Linked DNA regions of Homo sapiens: regions 1, 2, 3 and 5 are each linked to region 4. Evidence: promoter capture Hi-C in 16 types of primary human blood cells and fetal thymus (Javierre and others, 2016). All regions are on one chromosome and are shown on one strand. Each heading gives the region's core, a stretch centred on a gene start or on the middle of the fragment in contact. The rest is flanking DNA. Distances are from core to core; before and after follow the strand shown.

The links. Contacts are between HindIII fragments. The CHiCAGO score rates a contact against its expected background, and 5 or more counts as called.
Region 1: a fragment that was not itself captured here is called in contact with the fragment with the promoter of MYOM1 in region 4 in 11 of 17 cell types (megakaryocytes, M1 macrophages, erythroblasts and 8 more); the score reaches 10.9 in megakaryocytes.
Region 2: a fragment that was not itself captured here is called in contact with the fragment with the promoter of MYOM1 in region 4 in 1 of 17 cell types (M1 macrophages); the score reaches 6.3 in M1 macrophages.
Region 3: a fragment that was not itself captured here is called in contact with the fragment with the promoter of MYOM1 in region 4 in 2 of 17 cell types (megakaryocytes and erythroblasts); the score reaches 10.9 in megakaryocytes.
Region 5: a fragment that was not itself captured here is called in contact with the fragment with the promoter of MYOM1 in region 4 in 1 of 17 cell types (M1 macrophages); the score reaches 5.8 in M1 macrophages.

The regions. Positions count from the first base shown.
Region 1 is chr18:2,984,832-2,990,898 of GRCh38, forward strand. The region is part of intron 1 of LPIN2 (lipin 2); the gene reads right to left. LOC124904236 (a long non-coding RNA gene) reads left to right here. Exons shown (of 2, transcript XR_007066268.1): 2 at 243-579. It also overlaps the pseudogene SNRPCP4. Among named protein-coding and RNA genes, the nearest start is that of LPIN2-AS2, 21 kb to the left of the region's middle. The HindIII fragment of the contact is 876 bases long and covers 3,646-4,521 here.
Region 2 is chr18:3,078,012-3,084,028 of GRCh38, forward strand. MYOM1 (myomesin 1) reads right to left here. Exons shown (of 38, transcript NM_003803.4): 32 at 5,978-6,016; 33 at 5,778-5,883; 34 at 1,168-1,331. Among named protein-coding and RNA genes, the nearest start is that of LPIN2, 68 kb to the left of the region's middle. The HindIII fragment of the contact is 892 bases long and covers 2,689-3,580 here.
Region 3 is chr18:2,967,514-2,972,882 of GRCh38, forward strand. The region is part of intron 1 of LPIN2 (lipin 2); the gene reads right to left. It overlaps LPIN2-AS2 (LPIN2 antisense RNA 2), which reads left to right. Exons shown (of 3, transcript XR_001753322.2): 2 at 59-156; 3 at 2,515-2,596. Among named protein-coding and RNA genes, the nearest start is that of LPIN2-AS2, 3.2 kb to the left of the region's middle. RefSeq lists an enhancer at 5,089-5,238. The HindIII fragment of the contact is 731 bases long and covers 3,277-4,007 here.
Region 4 is chr18:3,218,217-3,223,590 of GRCh38, forward strand. It overlaps MYOM1 (myomesin 1), which reads right to left and starts at 1,752. Exons shown (of 38, transcript NM_003803.4): 1 at 1,587-1,752. RefSeq lists a silencer at 1-49. The HindIII fragment of the contact is 10,525 bases long and covers 1-2,532 here.
Region 5 is chr18:3,060,668-3,066,288 of GRCh38, forward strand. No RefSeq gene overlaps it. Among named protein-coding and RNA genes, the nearest start is that of LPIN2, 50 kb to the left of the region's middle. RefSeq lists enhancers at 1-278, 646-775. The HindIII fragment of the contact is 809 bases long and covers 2,902-3,710 here.

The DNA.
Region 1 (6,067 bases), core at 2,834-5,333, 230 kb before region 4:
TTGTGTTATGCCAAGCAGAGACCAAGAAAGAACATGCTGGGGATCAGCAGGAGGAGGCTGACAAGAGGTAGGAGCAAAGGCTTAGCAAGTGAGGCGTGGTGGAGATCCAGCAGGGCAGAGGTCAGCGGGTAGAATTCTGTTCAGCAACTCTTGCCTACAATGCAGCTTACACAACAGGTGGGGCACCCAAGCCAGTCATTTGGGGGTTTCCTGATAGTGTTTGTATTGTTTCCTTGTTTTAGCTGATGACTCCCAGAATGTCCTGACTGCAAGGAACATGTACTATGGACCCATCAGAAGTGAGCTCATTTTCTAAACATCTGTGTTGCCAACAGGCACACACCTAAAGTTTCCTCCTATGGCCACCTGTGGATCACCCTGACCTTCAAAGCTGGTAGCCAAAGTTCTGCTTCCACCCCCACCATCTGCAAGGTGGCACTTTTCAGTCTTGATGGATAAATGTTAAAAATCACAACCAACAATTCTTAATCATCCCTATGATTTTCAAAGGAAAACGCTACTGTATTGTCAAACTTTTTCTCTACAGGCTAAAATAAAAATAAATGACTACTGAAAAAAGCTACTTTTTACTTTTGTATAACATCTTCAATGATCTTTTTTTTAAAAAGTGCATAGAATTTGGAAGTCTTTTTCCCAAGACTTAACTCTTTCAAAAAAAAATAGTCTAACTTAGGGAAACAAAGCTAAAATGCTAGTTAGGAAAAACAGAATCCTGTTCAGATTCCACAGCTTTAATGATGCTAAGTAAAATATATACCTTCTTTGTTTTTGTTTTTTCTACTACTAATCCCATAAGTATGTAAGACTAGGTATACAGGGCTTTTTAAGAGGGTATAACGATTTATTTAAAACTTTCTAGCTAGAATTTGCTTATCTGAAGCTGTACTAAGCTGGTTCAACAGAAATACCTTTACACCACAAGCATGTTATTTTACCATAAAACATGAAAATAATTGTACTCCCCCCCAGTGGCCATACTATGGAAACACAACACCTTGCTCCTGGATTACCAATGAAGATGTGACAAAACTAAGTTTTGATTATTAAAAAATCATGAAAATATTTTATAACCTCAATTACAAAGAATTTCATAATACCCACCGGAATTCCTCTATAGTGAAGAACCTAAGTGCATTTCTGCATTTTCAAGACTCCTCATGACAAAGGGAACATGTAAAGGACCATGGCTCACCTGAAACAAATGTTTTCATTTAGAGCCAAATGGCTCTCACCATCTACACCAAAGCATATGAAGTGTTTCTTCTCCTAAATGGAATCACTTATAATTCACTGTTTATGAAAACAACCCCAAAGGGACTGACGTTTTATTCAAAACCAAGATAAAATTCCTCTTGCTACCACTCTTGGGTTTTTCAAACATTTGTAGTTTAACTGCTCATTGGGTAATGGTTATATAGTTTACTCAAGTTCCAGTGTTTCATAATATCCTCATATAATCTCAAAATTCTAAACAAGATAGCTAGTGGCTGGCAATTTCACTGAACTGTGAGTGAATAACCAAATGCAAACAGATCTTTCCAGGAACAGAAGAGAAAAAACAAGGGAGGGTCTCCTGAGGTCAGACGCCCAGCTTAAAGTGACTCTCCCAAAGATAAACTTCTTTGAAGACTTGTCATTTATCTTTAAAATTCACACATTTTGTAGTCTATTGTGATAAGTCTATTTTTTTAATGTAAAAAAAAAAAAAAAAGAAAGACTAACTGGCCAAAGCTTTCTTCTTCCAAGTTCAAAGGTTAATGCAACACATTTACTGTAAGAATTAGAGGATGCTCAGTGTACACATCGCAGTTTAAGGAGCTTAGGACCAAACAACCTCTGCGGTCTAACCCTTCCAACACAAATGTTTGAGGTCAAGCTTTTACCCACTATTTGGAGACAAGAGAGACAATACTGAGAGTTGCCTGGCTGTAGCAGTCAAGTGCATCTGAACATTAAGAGAGTAAAGCTGAACAGCCTAATTTAGGATCAGAGTAATTATGGCCTGACTTGTGTCACAACTTTTGGACAACATTTTCAACAAAATAAAGCCAAAAGAAATGGAAAACCCTCTGTTCTGCTCAGGCAGGACTCCTGAGGCCTCAGTTGCTTGACAGGGGTGGAGGTCGGGGGTGAAGAGGGGGCCTGTTAATTGCCTAATTGTTTCTGTTTAAATGTCTTTTTCTTCTCCCATTTCACCTCTGAATAGCAGTTTGCACAGTGATGACACCCTTAGGTATACGATTTTCTGTTCTGGGGTTATATCACCCCCATTTCATTCAAACTCAAAAAATCCTGTTGAAATGCAAGTCTTACTATCATCAAATTTTAAAACACTAAATAATTTTCAAAGTGTAGTGCTTTAATCTTTTCAGAAACAAATTACTTGTTATAGACTCACAATAACAGGGGTGGCTCAGTGCATCACAACACTGAGGCCAAGTGAAGGTGCTGGAAGAAGCCAGTGCTGGGTTCCTATACTCCAGATCAAAAAGTGAGATAGCTTAAAGCTTGTCCCCCAAAAACAGCAACAAACAACAAATAAGGTGAGCAAGAGTTGATTATATCATTAAGACAATCCAAAGAAAATATAAGTGAAAATTATCACAAAATGTATCGGCATCATGTAGGAACCCCTCATCCTCACATTCCTTGACTTATTTTTTTCCACGTGGACATTTCAGGTCCATCTTTGACTCCAATTTTCTCTTCCATAGCTGGTTCCTCACAACAGTTCTAATTCAAGATTTTCTCGACCACCTGAAAAACTGGTGATGGTTGTTTAAATTATTCTGTTGCTGTGATCTCTTTCAATTACTTAAAAATTTTTTATTTAAAAGATATTTGTAATCAGCTTTACTTAGTAAATTACTCTTAGTAATTACTCTTCTTCCTGCCACCTTCTTCCATCTATAGAAACGAACGGCTGCTGTAATTTTAAGTGTACTTAGAATCCAGGAGGGTGGATCACTTGAGGTCAGGAGTTCAAGACCAGCCTGGCCAACACAGTGAAACCTCATCTCTACTAAAAATACAAGAATTAGCTGAGTGTGGTGGCTCACGCCTGTAATCCCAGCTACTCAGGAGGCTGAGGCGGAGGTTGCAGTGAGCCAAGATCATACCACTGTTCTCCAGCCTGGGCGACAGAGTGAGAGACTGTCTCAAAAAAAAAAAAAAAAAAAAAAAAAAGAATCATCATGAGTGCTGCCAGCAGGCCAGATGGGTAACAGTATAAATTACTTATCTGTAGCCTTAAATGGGTCCCCAACAGAATCTGGCAACCCTCCTTTGTTTCTGTGGTCAGCTCTCTCTCCAAATTTCTGGTTCTTTTTCAAACTTCCATGCTCCTCAACCTGACTATATTCTGCCACTCTATTTCCCCATCAGAATGTACAACATTCCATATTCTTGAATGCAGGCTCATTTATGCTCTTCAGGAGAAACGGCAAAAATGACTAATATACTTTGCTATGAGAATAAAGAATTTAGTTTCACAATGTTTAGAAATTCTAATGCTATACTTAAGTGTTATGAAGAATTTTATTTAATTGGTGAAATTTAAATTAAAATGAAAGTAACTGAATTCTTAAATTATTACACTCAGTGAATCTGCCTACTTCAATCTAAAGCTTGACTGAGATGTGTAAGAAAAAGAGAAAACCTGAAACACTGATACTCAGCTTTATATGTAAGTTATATTCTACACATACAGATGAATCCAATTCCAGATGGTGACGGTAATTGCAATCTCCAGTGAGGGTAAAGCCTCAATGCACTAAGTAGTAAAAGAAAAGGGGAAAAGTTAGTCAGCTTTGCTACTCTTTCAAGTTAAATGCTGGTAATGTCTAAGATTTAACCTTGTAATGTCAAGACACAGATAGGATTCAAAAAGCAAAGAGGCATCTGAAAGTTGCAACATGAGAAGAAATGCTCCCTCTTCTAAGGATAAAGCACCATTGAAACAGAACAAGTGTGACATTTCATTTTATTTTTCTTCCAGACTCAACATACTTTAATATAAAAAAGCTCTCTCAGGAACAGGGCATTTAGTTTGTGTAAAAATCTTCAGCCTTTGCAACAAATTAATTGTATTCAATTTGAAAAAGTATACTTCAAGTACAACATAGGTATTTATATTGAAATCATAGAAGAAAACACAATCCTGGCAGCCAAGCACTATTTATTTAGTATTTACTCTAAGCCATACCCTGGAATTAATCCTTTGCATATATTATCTCTGATCTACACAATTCTCATGAAAGACAGATTTGCTTTATCCCTATATTTTACAGATGAAGAAATGGAGGTTTAGAGAGAGGTTATGTTAAATATCCAAGGACAAACCAGCTAGAGCTCAAGATGTCTTCCACAGTACCTTCTTAGACTCATTATTTAAGCTGAAATTCAGATTTACTATGCTAAGTATTTCTAAAATCTCAAACATTATGCAATGCATCTAAAAGAAAAAAAATGCCTAGGAATAAATTTAACCAAGGAGGTGAAAGCTTGTACAAATAAAATTGCAAAAATCACTGAAAAAAAAAATTAAAGATAACCTCAGTAAATAGAAAGACATCCGTGTTCGTGAATAGGAAGACTCAATATTGTTAAGATGCCAATATTACCTAAAGCGATCTTCAAATTCAAGGCAATCCCTATCAAAATTCCAAAAGCCTCAAATTCATATGGAGTTACAAGGGGCCCTGACTAGCCAAAATAATACTGAAAAAGAGCTAAGTTGGAAGACTTCCATTTCTTGATTTCAAAACTTTCAAAGTTACAGTAATCAGGCTGGGTGCAGTAGCTGACGCCTGTAATCCCATCACTTTGGGAGGCCAATGCGGGCAGAACACTTGAGGTCAGGAGTTCGAGACCAGCTTGGCCAACACAGTGAAACCCCGCCTCTACAAAAAATACAGAAATTAGGCAGGTGTGTGGCAGGCTCCTGTGGTCCCAGCCACTCGGGAGGCTGAGGCAGGAGAATCACTTGAACCCAGGAGGTGGAAGCTGCAGTGAGCTGAGATTGCACCACTGCACTCCAGCCTGGGTGACAGAGTGAGACTCTGTCTCAAAAAAAAAAAAAAAAATTACAGTAATCAAAACATTGTAGTACTGGCATAAAACAGACATACAGACCAATGGAATAGACTTGAGAGTCCAGAAATAAACCCAAACATTTATGGCCAATTGATATTTGACAAGAGTACCAAATCCACTGCATGGCGGAAGGAATAGTCTCAACGGATGGTGCTGACACAACTAAGTTTCTATATGCAAAAGAATGAAGTTGGAACCCTACTTTACACCATATTAAAAAATTAACTCAAAATGGATTAATGACCTAAAACCATAAAACTCTTAGAAGAAAACATAGGGTAAATCTTCATGATCTTGGATTTGGCAAATGATTCTCAGATATAACACCAAAAGCATGAGTAACAAAAACTAGATAAATTGGATTTCACTAAAAGTACTTTTTTTTGTATCAAAGGACATGATCAAGAAAAAGAATCATACAGAATGTAAGAAAATATTTGCAAATTGGGGAGTTTAACTCTAGAATATATTTAAAAATTCCTACAACAACTAAAAGACAAATGATTCAATTAAAATATGGGCAAAGGATCTAGATAAACCCTTCTTCAAAGAAGATATACAAAATGGCAAATAAATACTTGAAAAGATGCTCAACATCATTAACCATCCGGGAAAGGCAAATCAAAACCACAATGAGATACCAATTCATACCCACTACGATGGCTATAGTTTCTGTTAAAAAGGAAGAGAGTGGCCAATGGCCGTGACTACTGCAACACACACCTCATCCATGACTCTCCATTTATGAGAAAGACATATTGCAGTGGTAGGAAACAGAGACAGAATGTCAAAGATTACTATTAGAAATGGATGGAAGAACAGGCTCAGAGCCTGACTGACAAAATAAGGGTTGCACTTCAACAAGGAAAGATACTTCCTACTTCAATCTCTGTTCCCCGCCGGCAGGGACAATGATACTACCTCCCTCCAGTCTTCTGGGTCCTCCTCATCC
Region 2 (6,017 bases), core at 1,885-4,384, 140 kb before region 4:
AGAAAACCTGAGTTACTGCATATTGAGGTTGTATTTTTTTTTTTTTTTGAGACAGAGTCTCGCTCTGTAGCCCAGGCTGGAGTACAGTGGCGTGATCTCAAATCACTGCAACCTCCGCCACATGGGTTCAAATGATTCTCCTGCCTCAGCCTCCCAAGTAGCTGGGATTACAGGCATGTGCCACCACAGCCAGCTAATTTTTGTATTTTTAGTAGAGACGCGGTTTCACCATGTTGGCCAGGCTGGTGTCGAACTCCTGACCTCAGGTGATCCACCCGCCTCAGCCTCCCAAAGCGCTAGGATTACAGGCATGAGCCACCATGCCCACCTGAGATTGTATTTTAAAATGAAGTGGAGGAAAAGTTAGTCCACAGTTGTCTTTATTAACTTTAATACAGTATAGACTATTTTATTTTATTTATTTTTTATTTTTTTAGAGACAGAATCTTGCTCTGTTGCCCAGGCTGGAGTGCAGTAGTGTGATCTTGGCTCACAGCAGCCTCAACCTCCAGGGCCCAAGTGATCATCCTAGCTCAGCCTCCTGAGTAGTAGGGATTATAGGCATATGCTACCACACTTGGCTAATTTCTTAAAATTTTATATTTGAAGAGCTGGGGCCTCACTATGTTGCCCAGACTGGTCTTAAATTCCTGGCCTCAAGTGATCCTCCCACCTTGGCCTCCCAAAGTGCTAGGATTAAAGGCCACCATGCCGGCAGACTATTTTATTTTTGTAAGAAAGAATAAGATGAAGAGTATAGTTCTGGGAAAGGGATAAATGGTCCAGTATTTTTTTTGACTTTTTGCTTATAAGTGAGCATTTTTAATATTTATTTATTTTTATAGAGATGGGGTTTCACTATGTTGCTACAGGCTGGCTGGTCTTGAACTCCTGGGCTCAACTGATTCTCCTGCCTCCCACAGTAACTGGGACTACAGGTGTGTGCCACTTTACCCAGCTACTTTTTTTTTTTTTTTTTTTTTTAGAGATGAGATTTTACTCTGTTGCCCAGGCTGGTCTTGAACTCCTGACTTCAAGTCATCCTCCTGCCTTGGCCTCTCAAGGTGTTGGGATTACAGGCATAAGCCACCATGCCCAACTCCCTTCATTCCTTTTAAAAGGCTCATTCATCTAGAGTAAATTTGAATCTGCAAAATATCTGTTTACCTTGTCCAGAGAGATCCACTGTCTTCTGATGTCCAGTTTTGCCATCAAAGAGCTCCATGACATACTTCCCTTTGTCATTCGGGGTGGGCTCGTTGATTTGTAGCCAGATCTGCTCTCCAGTGACCCCGGTCTTAACTCTGTCTGAGTACCTAATGGCGGACCCACTGTGAAAATCGAAGAAAACTTCCTTAGCATTTGCTTCCATCCAGGGCTGATCTTTACTTTGTCTCTCATTGAAGCTCTTGCCATAAAGTTTTGTAGGCTTTCAAAAAACGAGGGATCTGCATATGTTATTCTTCTGCTTCAGAAAAATTATGGGCCATGACACACAGAACCGGGATTCCAGGGCCCAAGGTGTGACAGTCTGAACATTTATTTGTTAATAACTCCTCATAGCAGTCTGAGGCCCAGTGCAAATCACAATACTAATACTTCTCGGTGGCATTAATTATCTTTGTTTTTGTTTGGGTTTATTTGTAGGACTAGGGTAATCTATAAAGCTAAAAGGCCAAACTACATACTATTTTACTGCATATTTCATCTAGATAATCTATGGCTATAAATCAGATTCTACAAGCTAGTCCAAAAACACACTTATGGAGGCTCATCTGTGCCTGACATCTATTGACATATGTTGTTAGAAAGCTATTTAAAACAGATAAATATGCACTTGGTAGTAGAGCCAAGAGTGAATGAAAAGCAGAGTTGCCGCCAACACGAATGAGGCATGTTCTCTGTCCCGGGATGTGAGTTTCTCAGAATTCTACAGTAGGTCATGAGCAGACCCATGCAATATATTCTCTGCAAGAGAATATTAGGAAATACAACCCTTTTTTGTGTGATCTTGGTGTAGAAATACTACAGATATAGACGAACTAAGAGAAAGCTAGGTAGATGTACTTTTAATTATGTTAAAAGAAACTTTATGAAGAAGTTATTAAAACTGAGGAAATGTTTAAAAAGTGGCATACAAAATGACGTTAAAAAGTGGTATATAAAATGACGTTATTATAGTAACCATCATGCATAGAAAAAAGGCTAGCAGGAAGTACCCTAAAATGTTCATATTATGGCTGGTAAAACTATGGATACTATTATATTATAGTTTTTTCTAATTTATATTATTATAAATGTATTTTCTGAAACAAGCATGTCTTACGTCTGTTGTAATAAACAAAATGAACTTTGGAAAACATAGAAAAACAAATTTTCTGGCTGGTCACGGTGGCTCACACCTGTAATCCCAGCACTTTGGGAAGCGGAGGCAGGCGGATCACCTGAGGTCAGGAGTTCCAGACCAGCCTGGCCAACATGGTGAAACCCTGTCTCTACTAAAAACACAAATACTAGCTGGGCATGGTGGCATGTGCCTGTAGTCCCAGCTACTCAGGAGGCTGAGGCAGGAGAATCGCTTGAACCCGGGAGGCGGAGGTTGCAATGAACCGAGATCACGCCATTGCACTCCAGCCTGGGTGACAAAGTGAGGCTCCATCTCAAAAAAAAAAAAATTTCCTACCTAAAAGCTTTTAGCTTTCTAATATTTAGCATTTTTAATAATATTACATTTTTTAAATAACATTATTTATCTAAAAAGATATTAAAAATAAAGATGCCATAAAATGTAAAGACAGATTTTGGCATGAGCAATAGATGTGTCTTAGAGAGTTAAACAGGGCCGGGCGTGGTGGCTCACGCCTGTAATCCCAGTACTTTGGGAGGCCGAGGCAGGTGGATCACGAAGTCAGGAGTTTGAAACCAGCCTGGCCAGCATGGTGAAACCTCGTCTTTACTAAAAATACAAAAATTAGCCAGGCATGGTGGCACACGCTTGTAATCCCAGCTATTTGGGAAGCTGAGGCAGGAGAATTGCTTGACCCTGGAGGCAGAGGTTGCAGTGAGCCGGGATCACGCCACTGCACTCCAGCCTGGGTGACAGAGTGAGACTCCGTCTCAAAAAAAAAAAAAAAGAGAGAGAGTTAAACAGAAAGATTGTCCTCTGCTTTGCTATAATAAATCTGTTTTAAATCTTTAATCTCTGGGTAACATGAATAAGGGTACCTTACATCTGTAATGTGCTTCCGATGGAATAGGTACTATTGGTCCTATTTTATATAAGAGAAAACTGAGATTCAGAAAATTAAATGACCTGTCTAAGATCATAAGGCAAGATAGGAACAAAGTGAAGACTAAAATCCGTTTCAAGGGTTTTTTTCCCCTCTATGCCACATACAGACAGCAAAGACCATCCTTATCCCTGAATGTCATAGGTACACGGAAACACAAGAGACATAATTGATTGACTAGACCAAATAATTAAGATACTTATGCTTTGCTGGCCTAATAGCAATTTCCTCAAAACATACTTTCAGTGTTCTCATTTTTGAACAAGTTAATTCTTTTAGAGAAGATATAAAGCTTTTTGATTGATGATTCAATGAATTTTACTTCTCTCATTCTTCAGACTGATATATTAGAATGTCCTAGATGCCACAGAGGAATTTCCTGGAATTTGATCTATTTTAGCTAATAATTACTTTCCTAAAATGTATTCTGAAAGAAACAGAACAAAGGAATAAGCCCCAAGCATTCTACATTGGAATTTTACTAATTCTCATTTTTATGACTCAGGAAATAATAAATCATAATACTAACGAAAACACTGTTTTATATAACAGTAAAGTCATCTTAAAGAAAACACAAATGGCTGCTTTGTGGGGCCTGGCTCTGGCTAACTGTTCAATCTAGCCCAGTGGTCCCCAACCTTTTTGGCACCAGGGACCGGTTTCATGGAAGACGATTTTTCCACAGACCAGGTCGGGGGTGGGTTTGGGGATGACTCAAGCACATAACATTTATCATCAGATTCTTATAAGGAGCGCACAACCTAGATCCCTCGCATGCGCAGTTCACAATAGGGTTCGCGCTCCTATGAGAATCTAATGCCGCAGCTGATCTGACAGGAGGCGGAGCTCAGGTGGTCATGCTCGCTCCCTCGCCCACCACTCACCTCCTGTTACACGGCCCAGCTCCTAGTAGGCCACGGACTGGTACCGGTCCATGGCCTGGGGTTTGGGGATCTCTAATCTAGACTTCACACGGCTGGAATCCAGTGGCAGGTAGTACCATGATGAACCGGGCTCTGGAGCCAGGCTGCCTAGGCTCAGCCTTGACCTACCTCTTAGCTGTGTGACCTTAGGCCGGTCACCTCCCCGAGCCCTAGCTCCCTCATCCCTCAAGTGAGGAGCACCTACCATGTAGAATGGTGAATGTGAAATGAATTCACATATGTAAAGGGCTTTGAGCAGTGCCCCCCATATTGTCAATGCCACTGAGGGTACAGTGTAAGGAAACTTATTATCTGCACCCTCCTGGGGATGCCATGTGACCTTCTTCTCAGTGGGGCTCCTAGGAACATTTGCAGTTTGGAACATTTGCATCCTGAAGTTGGACTGAATGTGGCTACATTCCATTGGATTATCTTTGCCAGGCCTCCGTTCTCTTTCAGCTCAGGATATTTCAAGGAAACACAGAGGTTAAGGACACTGTCAAGAGTGTAAATGGGAGGCCTGGTTTGATTTGGAAACTGATTTCAGCTCTTGGAATCCCAGAAGTGAACTTGAATAGAGTCCCTGTATAACTGCACAGAGGTTCAAACTCACCTTCCCCAAAGTCAACTTGAGATCTCCAAAGCCTTCTGAGAGTGGACCAGAAACATGCTAATGTCTCACTCTGCCAGATGCTATAACAACAACAATAATCTTGGGCACTCGTTGGATTAGGCTTCTTTGGTGAATGCCCATTCATTCATATCATGGGAAATTTGGTGCCTCCTGGTGCACACTGCTTCATTTCTGTTCCAGACCACAGATGTGTTAACCGTGTGTATAGAAAGAAAGGTAAGAATGTGGCTCCAGATGCCTGGCACAGCAGAGAGAGCCCAAGCATGACTGTCTGGAGGTGGAGGCTGCATTATAGAGATGTCTATGAATTATGGTACTTCTTAAATCACAAAGAAAGATGTACTGTAACTATGACTGGCCTCAGCATGTACATGTTGAGGGAAAGAGCTAACCTCACAGTAACAGAATGCCTTGGATGTTTATCTCCTGGGCTCACCAATGTCAGACTTGAGAATTAAGAAGACTCCTTACTTGAGAAGAACAGAAAAATTTTTTCCCTATCCTCCCCTCTTCCAGTGGGGAAAGAATTTCTTTTTCTTTCTTTCTTTTCTTTTTTCTTTTTCTTTTTCTTTTTTTTTTTTTTTTTTTGAGACAGTGTCTCACTCTGACACCCAGGCTGAAGTACAGTGGTGCAATCTCGGCTCACTGCAACATCCGCCTCCTGGGTTCAAGCAATTCTCATGCCTCAGCCTCCCCAGTAGCTCAGATTACAGGTGTCTGCCACTGCGCCCAGCTCATTTTTTTTTTTTTTTTTTTTTTGTATTTTTAGTATAGACAGGGTTTCACCATGTTGGCCAGGCTGGTCTCGAACTCCTGACCTCAAATGATCCACCTGCCTCGGCCTCCCAAAGTGCTGGGATTACAGGTGTGAGCTGCCGCGCCTGGCAGGGAAAGAATTTCTACACAGCAAGTAAGTTCTCATTTACTTACTTGTGGGACCAGTTAACTTTCAAATCCTCCACATAGTAAGTTACAAAAGAGTACAGTTGGATGCCCTCGGCTGTGCTCTGGATTTTCAGGTCTGTAGCAGACAAAGCTGAAAGAAGAAAATAGCATATTTCATACATCTGCATGCCCCTCCTGGCAGGAGGATCATAAAGCATTGTTGTGGTGCGAAATGTTTGACTCACCTATTTTTTTGCATACTTCCATCATCAGTTCCTTAAAGGC
Region 3 (5,369 bases), core at 2,392-4,891, 250 kb before region 4:
GGCTTGCCCACATCGTGTAGGTGCTTAACTGAGTCAACATTTTACAAAACATTTACAGTGTGCCCACCAGATGCTAAGGGATTACAAAGAACGAAAGGAGGTTACAACTTAGCTAGACAGAAGAAAGGAAGAGTATACAACACAGCGCAGTCTAGGGTAAGTTGAAAGCAGGGCCACAGACTCCCGACGCCAAGCCCTGACGGGGAATCCAGCCTTTCCGAGGGAAGCTGTTCTCAGACATTTAAATTCAAGCAAATGCCTTACTTTGTACTTCCTGGTTATTTCTTTTCCCCGTCATAGTAGAATGCCAATTTGTTTCTTTAGTTTTGTATTATTTTATATTAGCTATCTTTAAATTCTCACTTTATAAAACAAGAAATAGAAAATAGCAGCCGCACAAGAACAACCTGGCCTACCCCCCAGGAGCACAAAACAGATGGTTCATTAAAGCCCATGCGGTCTTCCTGAAGCTAAGATGGCCCATGAGAAGTGCTGACAGCTGAGCCTCTAACACTCACCGCTCCTAGACCTTCAGTGGAGAAAGAGCCCCAAATGTCTCCTCAAGAACACAGCGGGTCTCCTGCTGCCCCAGCAGTGTAGGGCGACTGGTCAAAGTGTTCTCCTTCATTTCTAGGACGATTTAGTCCCTGTACAGACTCTGTAAACGAAAACCCAGTGCCTCCCAGCAAACTTCCTGAATACACCGAGTATCCAGACAGCTTTTTCATCACAATGAAAAAGGAAATCTGGAAGAAGCCTTACCCGGGAAAGGCCTCTCGATGTAATCCTCCTACAGGTTTAACTCAGAAACAATCACAAAAAAAGATGCCCATTATACTGGCCTGTTTCTGGTACAGTTCAGTTTTCACACAGTCAAAATTAAGCACCTATTTCATGCCAGTCACTACAGTAAGTCCTTATGAAGATAAACAAAATTCTGCCCTCATCCTCTCTCAGAGGACCTTGGTTCTTGAAAGAGATATAACAAATACTGTCTTATATAATCCCTTATGATAATGCTATTTGGGAGACTGTTAGGAAGACTAGAGAACAAAAAGAGAAAAAATCTACTTGGGAGAGTTAGGTAAGGCTTCAAGCAGCAGAAAATATTTGTTCTAGAAGTGCAAGTATGTGTAAAGGGCTGAACAGATTAAGGAAGGAAGGTTCCCAGTGGGCAGTCCCAGGCAGAGAGAACAGCTTATGGGAAAGTGTGCTAAGTTTGAGGGACAAGAGTGAGATGCCACAAGGCCTTTGACCCTGTGCAAGTTTATCATGTGGGCAATGGGTGCAATCAGTGCTTCTTCTGTTCAGGGAAGCGACAGGATTAGGTCACAGGGGGAGGATGAACTAGAGAAGAGGTAGCTAAAGGCAGAGAGACTACTCCAGAAGTCACCACAACAAATTCAGGCAAGAGACTGCACAGCTCTATGGTAGAAGAGACACACACAGGGAGCTGAGAATCAGTTAGTCTTGATGACTGTTGCATGAACCAACTTAGAGATATGGAAATAAAAAGAGTAGACCTGGTGGGGAACTTCCTATCAAGGTTGAACTTAAAGAACACTACTTACTACCACACTGCTTCAAAAGTTTGTGTACATGAAAATCATTCTGGGTGGTTTTAAAAAATGCAAATTTCTGACTGTTTTAAAGCTTAAGAACTAATTATGAAGATGAGCCAGGTTAGGGAAGCATAGTTCCATGTAAAAGTAAGAGCTCTTGCTACTTTGTGCTACTTCCAAAATCAGTTCAACAGAAAACTGACTACACAAAGGCTCTGAGCCTTGGGAATTGTCCTGTCCTTTGTCTTTTACAGAGAAAAAGTACAGGGGAGTTTTTGAATCGTTCTGAGCTGGTGTTGGGCCTCAGAGGACTCCCTCCTGAGAGAATGAGATTTAGCCAGGATGAGGTGTGCTTTGGAGGATCTGAGGTTCTAGTCAATTCCCCGTAGATCACAAACTCTGTCTTTCTAAATCAGAGCAACCCCATCACCTCCACTGTTTGAAGTCGCAGTCAGGGAGGTTTTTATATCTAACTTCTTTTTCCCCACTAAATGAGGAAAACTGGCAAGGAGCACACTCTAGGTCAGTATTTCTCAAAGAGTGGTCCTTGGACTGCCTGCAATAGAAGCAAGTTTTGGTGCTTAAGAATGTAGGTTCATTCATGAAAAATACGGGAAAGGGGGATAAAAACAAATACACGCTCATGAACCCCAACCCAGACCTACTACATAAAAAGCTGGAAATGAGGTCTTAAAAATCTGTTACCCACGATTCTGACAGACACCCAAGTTTGGGAACTAACTCTAGGCTCTGTTGCAAGAACTTTCTCCTCTTAAGCCTGATTAAGTTTGTTATGAAGACTAAGTTGTTATGGGCTCAAGTTCACATCCTGTCGTATAAAGATGTCAAGGTCTGATAAGTGTGGATCAGAAGTGGAAGCAATAGATAGTAATAGAATTTTAGACATTTTAATGACAGCTGACCTGACTGTTTTATGATACTTAAATTCTAGAACTGGCAGTGCTTCTGTGAAAAAACTCAGAAATTCTGGCCTGGGAAGACTGCTTGCCTAAGGACCCCTTCCACAATTACAACCAAATATTACTCAATATCAACCTTTGGGATACGTAAGAAGAGGGGATTTTCTGATTCAATATTTCTGTTTGGGAATTTAAACAGACACATAATGCAATGGCTAGATCTGAAGGTAAAAACAGGGCTCCCTGGATTTCAATGATTTCAGTGCTCAGAGAGGCACCGAAACACAAGGGTGGGCCCCCAGTAGCCATGTCTATAATACGGGACCCAGGTCTTGGTATCTGCTGGCTGACAGGGGTGGGAAACATCTGGCCCAAACAGATATTCATGAAACGTATATGGAGAGCCAAGGCCACCCAAGACTGGGAGGGCTGGGCTACCTGAGATGGGATGCAGAAGGCCCACCAGCTTGGAACACTGACACCCCAGGTGGCCCTGGCTCTTGCCCTCTTGGCATCTCTCTGAACGATGAGCCAGTCATAAGTTTCTTTGCGTGGTTGTTCAGAGTCCATTTCCAATGTTGCCAACAGAGGACTTAAATCAGACAGGCTAGATCCTGACTGGATAAAGCCACCTGGAGCCCTAAAACACCCTCCTGCAAATATCAGCCTGGCAAAACTAGCAAGAACATGCTTCAAACATAACCCAGATAACACTTTATGCTACTTAACAACTTAATCTGTTGAGAAAAAAATTTTTAATTTTTTAAAAATGAGAAAATATGAAGCTGGCCTTAAGCTTAGTTCTCAGGGCTGATAAGTTTTAAATTAGGATTTTTGGATCTGTCACCATGTTATTTCCTTTGAGGGAATCTGAAAGCTCAGACTTCTGCTCACTGAGTTCACTTCACTATGATGATTTCAACACACTCACTTTCTATAAACAGATGAACTGCTTTGTTGGACTGAGTAGGGCTCAGAAAAGGGAAGACGCTTTCCCAGTATAGCAATGCACCCTCTCTCCGAGTGGCGGCCCAGACCTTTACTCAACGACAGTGTCTACTTCAGCTTTTCAGCAGGTATAACTTAAGGAAGGACCATAAACATCACCTATTTCATCTTCAAAAATTACCAGCCCCCATCTTCTACCCACCCCAGTCATCAGCCCAATAATTTTCTGGACAATTCTTCAAAAGCCAATACCAGTTTTCATCTTAATCTGGTATTTCGTAAGAGGAGCAAGGATGTTTCAGGTTCCCTGGGTAAGGAGGAAGTGGGATCAAAAAGGAACGTACATCCACAACAGATTGTGAATCCCCAGAGCACAAAGGCAAAGATCAAAAAGATGATAGGGGAGGATGTGTGGGCTCAGCGGCTGAGAAGAAAGCAGAGGTCACAAGATGGGATCTGTTGCTGTGAGTGCCCAAGGCCCCCTGCCCTCTCCCTACCACAGCACCCACCACGCGGCATGAACATTTAGGCTACCTTCAAACTCTTGAGTTCCGGTAAGGAAGAGAAAAGTCCCGCAAGCTTCACTGCTTCCTGAAAGCTTGGCACAGTGCCTAGCAATAGTAGGTTCTTAATAAGTGGTTTTGGATCAATGAATGGACCAATGAATAAATGAATGAATGAATGCAAGACCTAGTGAACAGAATCAGCAAGGAGAGGGAGAAATATACACAGTGTTGCGTTTTATCTCACTGACTTAGAGTAAAATTCAAGAGGTAAGTGAAGATACATATAACCATGCACTGGAAAAAAAAAAAAAAAACAGGCTGGGTGCGGTGGCTCACGACTGTAATCCCAGCACTTTGGGAGGCCGAGGCGGGGGGTGGATCACCTGAGGTCAGGGGTTTGAGACCAGCCTGGCCAACATGGTGAAACTCTCTACTAAAAACACAAAAATTAGCCAGGCATGGTGGTGGGCACCTGTAATCCCAGCTACTCAGGAGGCCGAGACACGAGAATCGCTTGAACCCAGGAGGTGGAGGTTGCAGTGAGCCAAGATCGCGCCACTGCATTACAGCCTGGGCGACAGAGTGAAACTCCATATCAAAAACAAAACAAAACAAAAAAACAAAAACAAAGAAAAGAAATCCATGGTGGAAGTTAACCCAAAGTCCCAAAAGCAATGCCCATGTGTTCAGACCAATACTTTCCTCCAGAAGCTGCTGAAGACCTCACAGAGAAAAACTTGCATAAATCTAGTCTATGTCAGTGACAAAAATGACACCGCCTCAGGATGGGTAAATCTAAAAATATCCCCGTGAGAACAAATGACAGCCAAGTAGATCATTCTGGAGAATACTGAGCAGCGCAGCAGCAACTCGCGGCAGAGACTGCTGGTCATCAGAGGAAGTCAGTGTGAAGTCAGCCGAGGCAGGGGCAAGGGTGCCGTAACTGCATTATTACAGAAAACAAAGTGAAACACAACCACAAAGTTATCCATCTTCTACTAGTCAGCTGACTTTTACGAAAATGCCCAATATAATTATGCTACAGAGCACAGCCTTTAAGGAAAATGGCTGGAAACAATAGTTTAATTTTCCTGTGCTCAATAATGTACCAGAACATTAATTTTCTTCAGAAATAGAACCTGGTACAGAGCAAGAAAAACTAGTGTTCAATTTTATCGTTAAATTTCAAAATAACATGTGTGGCTTAAGGAGATCCTAAAACGGTAAGCAGCACCCTCAAAAGGGGGCCCCAACTCCCTTCCTCAGCCCCGACAACATTCACATGGCCAAACTTGTTTCAAACTATCATAGCTCTGTAAAACTAAATGGTTCCTGTTCCCACATTTCTCTTTAATGCTTCTCCCTTCATTTCCCAAAATGAAAATAAAACCTTGTCATGAAACTTTCTGATAATTTAATTCTTGTCTGTTCCC
Region 4 (5,374 bases), core at 502-3,001:
TTATAAAAGCTCCACCCCCAAGTGTTTTAATGCTGTAGAATTAGTTTTAAAGTGATCTGTTTTCTCCAAATGTCATTTTTAAAAAAATTCAAAATGAAGAATGAATCCTTCTAAACTCAGCATATTCTTTGTCAAGTTTAAAACTACTTTTTATTTAAACTATTTTAAAAGTCAGCATGTATTCCCCAGAGAAGAAAACTGAGCAAACTTCACTCCAGAAATATTTATCTTAGGGTTCATGGAAGATATCAGTCTACAGGGCATTTCCTAAGGGAAAAAAATAGCTACTAGCAAGCAACTTTGCTTCAACCCTTAAATAGATGGCTATTTTCTGTTACAAAATATGGAGGATAATTACCATGTATAATTAATAACTACTAGATGAATTTTGATAAAACAAAGGGGTTAGAAAATGTTAATACAGAATTACGTTAGGCAGTTATAAAGATATTAGAGAAGTTTCTGTTATGATACTACATTGTAACATGGCACATGTTATTTGAATGATTTTTCAAATAAATAATAAAGAAACTTGTTATGTTATAAACTAAATTCATTCCCCAGATGACTTGAAATGCTGTTATTTTCACAAAATAAAATCTTTAAATATCTTGCCCCAATACTATTTTTTACTCTCTTTATTTCTATTTCTCCCAAATACATTTATTTTTAATAATACTTACTATTCCTCTCACATAGATAGTAAGTTACAAGTAAACAGGGTTTGACTTGAAGCCCACATTGCTGATTGTCACAGCCCTGACCTCTGGAACAAAGGTACAACCACCTCCTCTTCATCAAGTAAGCCCTTGAAGTTAACTAAAGCCAGGATTAGCTCCAACACATGACGGCTGGAGTACGTTGGGAGGAAAGATGGTTTTAGTGTCTTTTGTTTCTTTAAGACCTAAATTTTCTTTCTGAAAATAATTTGAGAATTTAGGAAGAAATACAAATTCCATAGCTGTAATTTATGATACTTTTGTGCAGGCATTAGAGGGCAGAAGCTGATGAAAACGATTCCCAGAAAAATCACTATGTGGGGCTCTATGTTGCCTCTGAAATATTACTTAACCATTTGAGGCCATATCATTGTGCGCGCTCACATTTATCCACATTGCATCGTCACAGCAAGATCCCTGAATTATAAACTAGTGACTTCAGAGTTAATTTTCCTTCTTTCGGTCTAATTTGTAACCAGGGAGCATTGTATGGCACATGCAGGATTGAAAATGCAGGGCCTCCTGTCTCTCATCCATTTCAGATTTCAACCAAACCGTACTTGGAAATAGCATTAAACACACGCTTACAGTTCAATCCGAGGCAGATATGACCTCCTTACAGTTCCAGGAACAGCAGCTTAATTTCAGAAGAATACAGTGATGTGAGAGAAGAGCTGTGCCAGCCCGACTGGCACCCGGCTGTTCTGGTTTCCCTCCCTGGAGCTTCACTTTCCTATTTCTCTGTTATTCTGACATCTCTTTGAGAAAACTGCTGAGTTCAGAAGACAGAAAGAAAGCACTTACACTGCACTGCTGCTAAGCTCATAAGCTATCAAGTGCATTCTTCTGCCTCAGTGTCACACTTACCAGTTTCCAAAGGAGTAATGGTGGTGGAAATGTTCCGATGAGGCCGAGGAGCTGGATGAGAGAATGAAGACTCCACCTAGGTTGAATCCAAGACAATGTTAAGAGGCAGGGCTAAAGACAGGACCCTGGGGGCCAGTTCAAAAATAATGCATGTGGTCAGGCAGTCGAATGTCAGGCCACACAACCAGCCTTTTATGGCCAAGAAGGCAGATAAATATAGCAGCAGATGGGGAGGGTAGTTCCAAACCAGGAGGAGGAGAGGGGCATGGGCAGGTAGCAGCCTTAGTAATATAATTGCATAATGCCGGTCAATGGGTCTGGCCCGATTAAACCAAATATAGGGTTTTTATTTGGCAACAAGAGTTATTTTCAATGTCACTTTATCAGTAGATAATTTAAAAGTGTAATGGAAAGAGTGGTTTGTGTTAACAGCTAAAAATAGGTGTAGTAATATGATTCTCAAAATGGACTTCGTGGAATTTTAATGCCAAGATATGATTCTGAGTGTGCTGTTAACAACACACGTACGGTACATTTAAAAGATACAATGTGAAAAAAGAACTTGAAGCTAACTAAAGGCAAAACAAGGAAGAAATGGGTTACACGTGGTGGCGATTTTTGCCTGACATCACGGTCACTATTTCTCTCACTTCAGGAAAATTTACAAGGTTAAGTCTTAGCTTCAAGCCTGAATATGTGATTTCCTGTTCATTAACTAAAGCCTTTTGAGACGCAACTCAGTGTTTTATCTTTCCTAACTCAGAGTAGGGTCAGTCCATCTAATAAGAGATTCTCTTTCTTTGTTCTTTAAATGGTGTGACCAATTAAGAGGAGGTGTAACCCGGTTGTGAGAGCCTGTGTTGTGGATTCAGACCAGATCTAGATCCCACTATATTGATAGCACTTAGTAGCCATGTAATCTCCAGCAATTTATTTCTCCTTCCTAAGCTTCAGGTTTTTTGTCTATAAAATGGGGATAATCATATCCAAATTATAGGATTGCTGTGGTGATTAAATGTGATACTGCAGACAGAGCACTTGACCTAGTGACAGTCACATAATATAGACTCAGTAAATATCAGCTGTTATTACTGATACCAATAATATAAAAGCTCATTGTTAGATTACATGTATGCAGCAGGTTGGTATTTTGATCTACTGGCCTTATGTTCTGACAGTGATATTACATCAACTGAATAAAGGTCACCTGTGTCTATCAAAATTGTTTTTCTTTCTGAGACAGGGTCTCACTCTGTTGCCCAGGCTGGAGTGCAGTGGTGCAGTCTTGGCTCACTGCAACCTCTGCCTCCCAGGCTCAAGCAATCCTCCCACCTCAGCCTCCCGAGTAGCTACAGGCGCATGCCATCACACTCGGCTAATTTTTTTTTTTAACTCTTGGTAGAAATGGAGTTTCACCATGTTGCCCAGGCTGGTCTCAAACTCCTGGACTCGAGTAATCCACCTGCCTCAGTCTCACAAAGTGCTGGAATTACAGGCGTGAGCCACTGCACCCAGTCTCTATCAAGATATTGAACAGACTCAATATTATAGTATACTTCATCATGACTTTCTTGATGATAACTACAGTTAACACTGTTGAGGACCTATCCAGTGCCAGACACTGGGATAGGCAGTTTATATACATGATCCCACTGACTTATCATACCTTGCAAGGTACAGCTTCATTACCCCGTTGAGGAAAGCAAAGCTTCCAGAAGGGAAGGCATTTGCCAAAGATCACACAGCGGGTAGATGACAGAAACGCAACTTCATTCAGAGACATTTGATTCCAAAGCCCGTGTACTTGTAGTCATGTATTGCTGGCTCCTCCAGTGGCACTTTGATAGTAAGAAACTAGACATTTTGAAATGGCAATACGGGTCTTCACTTGTAATAGACGGTTAGCTTCTGAGCTACTCAAAGTATGTAAAAGAATCTGTTCCACCTAGTTCTGATCCAGGTACCTGTGAAATTCAACCTGGAATTTCTTCATATACATACCTCTGCTATTAGTAAGCATGTGGACATTTTAGCTATCTGGAAGCCATAGGCGAGTTTTCCAAGTGTTATGTTCCCCAAGCATCCATTTGTTCTCTAAATATCCAATACAGAATGCAGTGATTCTTCTCAAGTCTTATCCACCAGCCATTAGGATGATTCCTGGTGAGCTGTTTCTCTAGAGAACATTGGTCAATTGCCCCAAATCTTCTCAAAGCAGAAAAGAGGAAAAATAAACTTATATGCTTTTTAAAAAGTGTTTTACATTAGATGATTTTCTGGGAAATTTGAAATTAACAGCTGGCTAACCACTCCATTAAGTTTTCAGGATAATCACATATCTGTAAGGGTATCATGAGTAAGTGTAATTGACCAGAGTCCACATATATAAAGGAATCATAACTAAGTTACAATAATTGATTCATATGAGCCCAAGTTTTTCTTCTTTAGTTTTATTATCCAGTACATCACCATATGTAATTTATTATGTAGCTAGTTGTAATTCAGATAAATTTGCTGTTAGAAAAACCTGAATCTAGATGATGCCACAGCAGAAAGATCACTTAGGAGATTCTGCTGGGTCTAGCTCATGCTTCTTTTGTCTAAACTTACTGTATATTTGTTTGGAATAAACTCTTGCTTTCACAGGGATCTTGAGTATCAATGAATCAATGATAATATTTTAGTTTTTCTATAGTGTGTGTGCACTTCTCTCATTTTTGTATTTTTAACAAGGATGAAAGTTCAGTAAATATTTAAATGTATTGATACTTGTAGCCAGTACATTTTGACCTAATAAATTATTGTCTGTTAATAAGAAACATAAATGAAACTCTTCTTCTGTAACATTTCTTCCTTCTAATGGACAGTATTGGCACATGGTGCTCTCTATCAACATAAATGTGTACGTGTGCACATACACACATACACACACAAACAGGCATACACACACAGTTAAATGGTTGAGAGGCAGCATAGTATCATATATAGGAGGCTATGCTCTGTGTGGAACAGTCCTGGGTTCCATCCTCTGTCACCTTCTGGTTGTGACTTTAAGGATATTAATCTCTCTAAATCTCAATTTTTTTTTTCTTTTTGAGACAGGGTCTCTCGCTCTGTTGCTCAGGCTGGAATGCAGTGGTGCAATCTTGGCTCACTGCAACCTCGACCTCCTCAGCCTCAAGCAATTCTCCCACCTCAGCCTCCCGAGTAGGTGGGACTACAGGCACATGCCACAACACCTGGCTAATGTTTGTACTTTTGTAGAGATGGGGTTTCACCATGTTGCCAGGATGGTCTCGAACTCCTGAGTTCAAGCAATCTGCCTGCCTTGGCCTCCCAAAGTGCTGGGATTACAGGTGTGAGCCACCATGTCTGGCTGTAAATCTCAATTTCTTAATTCATAAAATGTTTTCATGATAATCATGCATAAGATAATCAAATAAGATATTGTAAAACAGTATTACTTCCTGGCATATAGCAAATAGTCATTAAATATTAGCTACCATTATGAGGACTTATATCTCCTATTTTTGTTCATTTTTTCTTCAATGCGGATGTTTTCCACGGAAGGAAAAGCTTAAATAAATTGTTCAGTGAGCTCTTTTGAAAGCCATAAATTTGCTGTATCCTTCCTACTTCAGTGTTGACTAATTTATAGGCAACACTAAAATAAGAAAGGTATCATATTTGGCATCTAGTCCTGTGGTTTACTGAGTAACTTTGAAAAATCATTTCACCTCTCTGAAGCTCCATTTTCTCATCTGTAAACTAAAGGGCTTAGAGCTAGA
Region 5 (5,621 bases), core at 2,056-4,555, 160 kb before region 4:
CGAAGTTTATGTGTAGAAGCCAATACACATTTCCTGCCTCTTCCCCCTCACTTCCTGGCCGCCGGTGCTACAGAGCAACTGTCCTGCCACACTTGAGTGAGATGGAAAAAACCAATTCTTCACCCCAGTTCACTTCCATGACTTCCGGCAGTGTCTGTTCAGAGGTCAAAGCTGTTGGTGATTTTCCACTTGTGCTGGACATAAACCTGGCAAAAAGGCAGGAATTTTAGGGACAGAGGGCTTTCTACCATGGCAGGTCAGAAGGGCCTGGGGGAACAGGGCCTGACCCACACCAAGTAAATATTTGTTGAATGAATGAATGAATGGAAGAAATGGTATCTTATGGTTTGTCTTTTTTGGAGACAGAGTCTTGCTGTTGCCCTGCCTGGAGAGTGGTGGCACGATCATGGCTCTCTGCAGCCTCGAGCTCCTGGGCTCAAGCATCCACCCATCTCAGCCTCCCAAGTAGCTAGGACTACAGTCATGTGCCACCATGCTCAGCTAATTTATTTTTATTTTTTGTTTTTGGTAGAGACGGGGACTCTCTGTGTTGCCCAGGCTGGTCTCAAATTCCTGGCCTCCTGAAGTGCTGGGATTATAGGTGTGAGCCACCGTGCCCAGGCAATGCCCCGTGTTTTTAATAGAATGACGTAGAGGTAATTGTTTTTTCTTTCTGTTTTGAGATGAAAACAAGGAATTGGTTTCATTTTCATTATTTTTTCATCTGTACTTCAGTGCTGCTGAAACTTTCACCTGAGAGGAGGATTTCAGATTTCTCGATTCTGCCCCCGCAACGAGTTGCTTCTCTTCTTTCTCTGCACAGTCTTCACTTTCATGAAGCCAAATGCCTCCTTGCAATTCAGCTCCTGGTTTTGAGTGTGTAAGGAAGACACACGCTTCTCGTGAAATTCTGGAGAATGTCTCCGGACTGCGTGGGAAGCTTATGAACCAGAGGTGCCTGTACTGACAGAAGCCTGTGAGCAAAGAGGGTTCCGAGAACTGGTTAGCTCTTTCTAGCCGGGAATATTAAGCTGTAAAGAACAAGGAAATGGAGGGAGCATTCACATATGTACTGCAGTTGGCATGGGGGTCTCCTTGGAGAGGCTTCCTGTGGGCAACTATGGGTGCATTCAGTAGGGACATTTAGATAACTAAGATGAGCCCTGGAACAACCAAAATAGAGTCAATGTAATAAAACACTCTCTGATTCTGGGACACGTCCCCCTCGTCTCTGAAAGGAAACACTTGGCTTCAGTTTGGCTCAGCAATGTAACACCTTTTCTCCCGGCTTAGAACCAGCTCTTAGCAAGCAGAGTGGGTGGCTTTTGTGTGATACCATGGGCACTAGTAACGCCTCAGGCTGAAGTCCCGGCCTGATAGGTTATGCCCTTAACCTTCTAAAACCAGAAACGAGAGGAAAGAAACCACAGAAGGAAACTGTAGAAACTCAACCCCAGGGGAGGCGAGCATTACCTTCATAATTTATTGCAAACAGTGCCTATTTTGTTTCCAAAGTGTTTTAAATTAAACTTAGTTGTGTATCATTTGGAATGTAAATATTCATCCTCAAAAGTGAGTAGCAGGGAGTATGGACTGTCTGAGTAACCACAGTGTGTGTGTCTGAGCTTTGTGACAAGTCTACTATGCCTTCTTGATGCTGGGCTACAATTAAAGCATGTTCTAAAAAAAGTAAAAAATGCACTTAGATGTTAGTAAGTATGAGCTAAGTAATTTTGGAAACTTTGGTGTGCATTTTAGAGATTGAGATTTTCATTTACATATATCAGTTGATTCTTCAGAAGCAATTTAAATAACTTAAGACTGTTTTTTAAACATAATCTTATCTCTAAAGCCCAAGGTAGAGGTCAAAATGCAAATATTTGAGGCTGTGATGTGATGGTCACTATGTATCCAGTTTGTAATCCTCCATATAACTGATGTATTAGTATTTTATCTAAACATCTTGCTGTGGGTATGTGAAGCAGGCCCACAGAACAGAACTAATGAACACCTGAGACCGTGCCAGTGTGTTCATTTAAAATGCGCTGCACCTTGTTCTGACACTCGATTTGTTGTAGATATTTGATCCTCTTGAGGCTTGCTTTTAAGCTCTGTTAGGGTGGGGCCAGAGGAGTTTTTAATCCAGGATTAATTTCTCACCTTAGTAGTGCCCCACTATGGAGGAGAAACTTCTGAGGACTCTACCCGAGGCCCACGTATTACAAAGTCTTTTCATTCCGGCTGGTGGACACGGACTCTGTTTCCAGCCCGCGTGAGCTCCAAGAATTGCTTGGCCTGAGGCTTTCCAGATTTCTTTCTCCCGTGCATTTGCTGAATAGTACTCAGCCAAAGAGCATGTGCAGCCTCCAGCACCCTGTCTTCGTGCAACTCTCCTCTCTCTCTTATTCTTTCTCATACATTTTAGACGACCCCGCCTCATTGAACCTCAGTCTCTGTCCCCTCAATTCAATGAGACTGACAGGCTCCCCCTGCTGGGCTGCAGCCTGAGCACTCTGTCTAGGCAAGAAGAAGCTGGAGCAATCACAGGTGTCTCATCACTTTCCCCTTCTCTCAGGCATCTTGGGCCTGCACATCTGCTGGCCAATGCCCTAAACGGTTATTTTTCCATATGTTTTGATATTTTGCCTGTTTTTCTAGTTGTTCATGGTGGGAGGACAATTTCCATAACAGTAATCCTTTGTGGGCAGACAGAGAATCCCGTCTAGCGTAGTTTTGCATTTGCTTCCCTGAGGCCCCGGACCTCGACCATTTTTATGGGAATTCTTGGCTTGAGATTGTTACCATGTGGTGCTGTAAATTTGCACCCCACAAACATGCAGTACTAGTTTGAGGAATCCATTAAATTTTCTTCCATCCAGAACCGCCCCCAGGCAGATGGAAAGCTTCTGTATAGCTTCTCTATGTCAGTTGGTGATATTTTTACTATTCCCATTTTTGTTTTGACTAAGCCACTCTTTGTGCATCTCAGATTTGTGCAGGCATCTTGGGTACCAACTCACTACCTTGAACAATCCAGGTCTACATCTCTCATTCTGGCATGTGTATTAAAACTCCAGTCCCAGATCTTAGAGGCTATATCTAGGCAAAAATTAGTATTTCTGCATTATGTAGGCTGTGCATATTTGATTTTCATGTACTTGAAATGTCTTAGCCTAGTGACTAAGTCCAATTTTTTTTTTTTTTTTTTGACAGAGTATCACTCTGTCTTCCAGGCTGGAGTGCAGTGGTGCAATCACAGCTCACTGCAGCCTTGACCTCCCAGGCTCAAGCGATCCTCCTGCTTCAGCCTCCCGAGTAGCTGGAACTACAGGCTCGTGCCACCACCCCCAGCTAATTTTGGATTTTTTGTAGAGATGGGCTTTCACCATGTTCTCCAGGCTAGTCTCAAACTCCTGGGCTCGAGTGATCCTCCTGCCTGGGCTTCCCAAAGTGCTGGGATTACAGGTGTAAGCCACTGCACCCAGCCTCCAGCTTTGTGATTCCAATGTAAAATGTTTAATTGACTGTGATTTTATGTTCATCTTACTAGGTTTATATACAATATGAGAATATTTATGAAAACTCCAAATTTTCTGTATTTATATACTTAGTTTAGTAGATAAAGTTATTTAAGTTCTTGAGACAGTTTTGTTTAAGTCAGACAATAGTAGTCCTTAAAGTGGAGAGAAAATATATTAATTTATAAATAAAGCTTAACAAATTAAAGGGAATTAAGTTATGCTATAAAAAGCAGCCTTAAACTTAATGTTCTTCAATAGTCAGATTTTTAAATGGAAAAATAATGTTTTAAAGTTGAACTTCAAGAATTTAGGAAGATCTAGGTTTTAAAATGTGTCACTTGACTATTATATATATATATATATATTAATTTTTTTATTTTTTTAATTTTTTTGTGATGGAGTTTCGCTCTTGTTGCCCAGGCTGGAGTGCAATGGTGAGATCTCGGCTCGCCACAACCTCCGCCTCCTGGGTTCAAGCAATTCTCCTGCCTCAGCCTCCTGAGTAGCTGGGATTACAGGCATGTGCCACCACGCCCGGCTAGTTTTGTATTTTTAGTAGAGATGGAGTTTCTCCATGCTGGCCAGGCTGGTCTCAAACTCCCGACCTCAGGTGATCCGCCCGCCTCGGCCTCCCGAAGTGCTGGGATTACAGGCGTGAGCCACTGCACCCCAGCCTATATATTAATTTTATAAAACTGAAGTAAACTCTGAATGGTCTTTTCTGTGTTCCAAGTTGATCCTTTAAGTACCACTACTTCACATTTACCAGGTCACAGATTCATAAATTTTTATGTGTTACAAAGTATCTTCGGCACCATTAAAGTGATGGATCTATAGTTTCAGTTCTATTTTCCCCTGTAGAAATAGCAGCTTTTTACCTAAGCTATTAAATCTTGAGGTCACTGGTTTAGTTTGGTCATAATAATGGCTGAAATAATTCTTATAGCTGTTTTGTTGAGCAATCTCAGCGTATGGAGCTCCGAACACAAAAGCCATCTCCCCAACTCACTGCTGCTGTGTCCCAGCAAACCCCTCTGCTGGGCGCAGGGGTCTTAGGGCACACTTTGATTTCATACATTTTTGCACAATTTCAGAATTTGGAATACACTGTTTTAAAATTTTGTTTCCACCTGATTCAACACCCGTCTTGCTTTCTCCCCAGTCTGGGATCCAGCAGGTGGAAATTAGGGAAGGGGTGGGAGGTGCTGCTTGCAGAAACCTCACCTCTCTGACACTGGGAGCTCTGTTGCTGGCTTTTTGAGGGGTGTGGTGGGGGCTTTTCGGAGAGTCTTAGGGGCCTCTCGCTTGCACAGCCCTTGGCCCTTGGCATGGGAGGTCTGCCGCCGCTTGAACCTTTCCCACCCCCACCCCCACCCCGCCACCCTCCCATCTTTAGCTCCCCAGCAGGTGTCCACCCACTGGCAGTTTCCTTCCGGGTCAGCTTGTTCAGATGTAGCCCTCTTACTGAGGCAGGCAGAACCGCAGACTGCTCATGGCCAGCCACCTTCCATGGGGTCCGCTTGACCCTTGGGAAGCTCATCTCCTTGCCATATCTGGGAGTGAGAACACAGCATCTGGCTCCTGCCTGGTGTTCAGTGTCATAGCAGCAGCATCCAGCACTTGTTTGGACAAGTGGATTGGCCACAGTCAGATGAGAAGCAATTTCCAGCCTTAAACTTGTAAAGGAGAGGGTGTGTAGGAGCCCCTGCCAACTGTATAAGGAAATTTCTTGTCTCATCCGCTACCTTTGGCAGGAGAAAGAAGGGGAAAAAATTGTTTTTATGAGATGGTCTTGTTCTGTTGCCCAGGCTGGAGTGCAGTGGCGCCATCATGGCTCATTGCAGGCTTGACCTCCCAGGCTCAAATGATCCTCCCACCTCAGCTTCCCAAGTAGCTGTGACTATAGGTGGGCACCACCACACCCAGCTGATTTTTAAAATTTGTTGTAGAGAGGGGTCTCGCTGTGTTGCCCAGGCTGGTCTTGAACTCCTAGACTCAAGCAATCCTCCCGCCTCAGCCTTCCAAAGTGCTGGGATTACAGGTGTGAGATACTGCACCCAACAGAAAAAAACACCATGACGATTTTCCTAGAATGGTGTG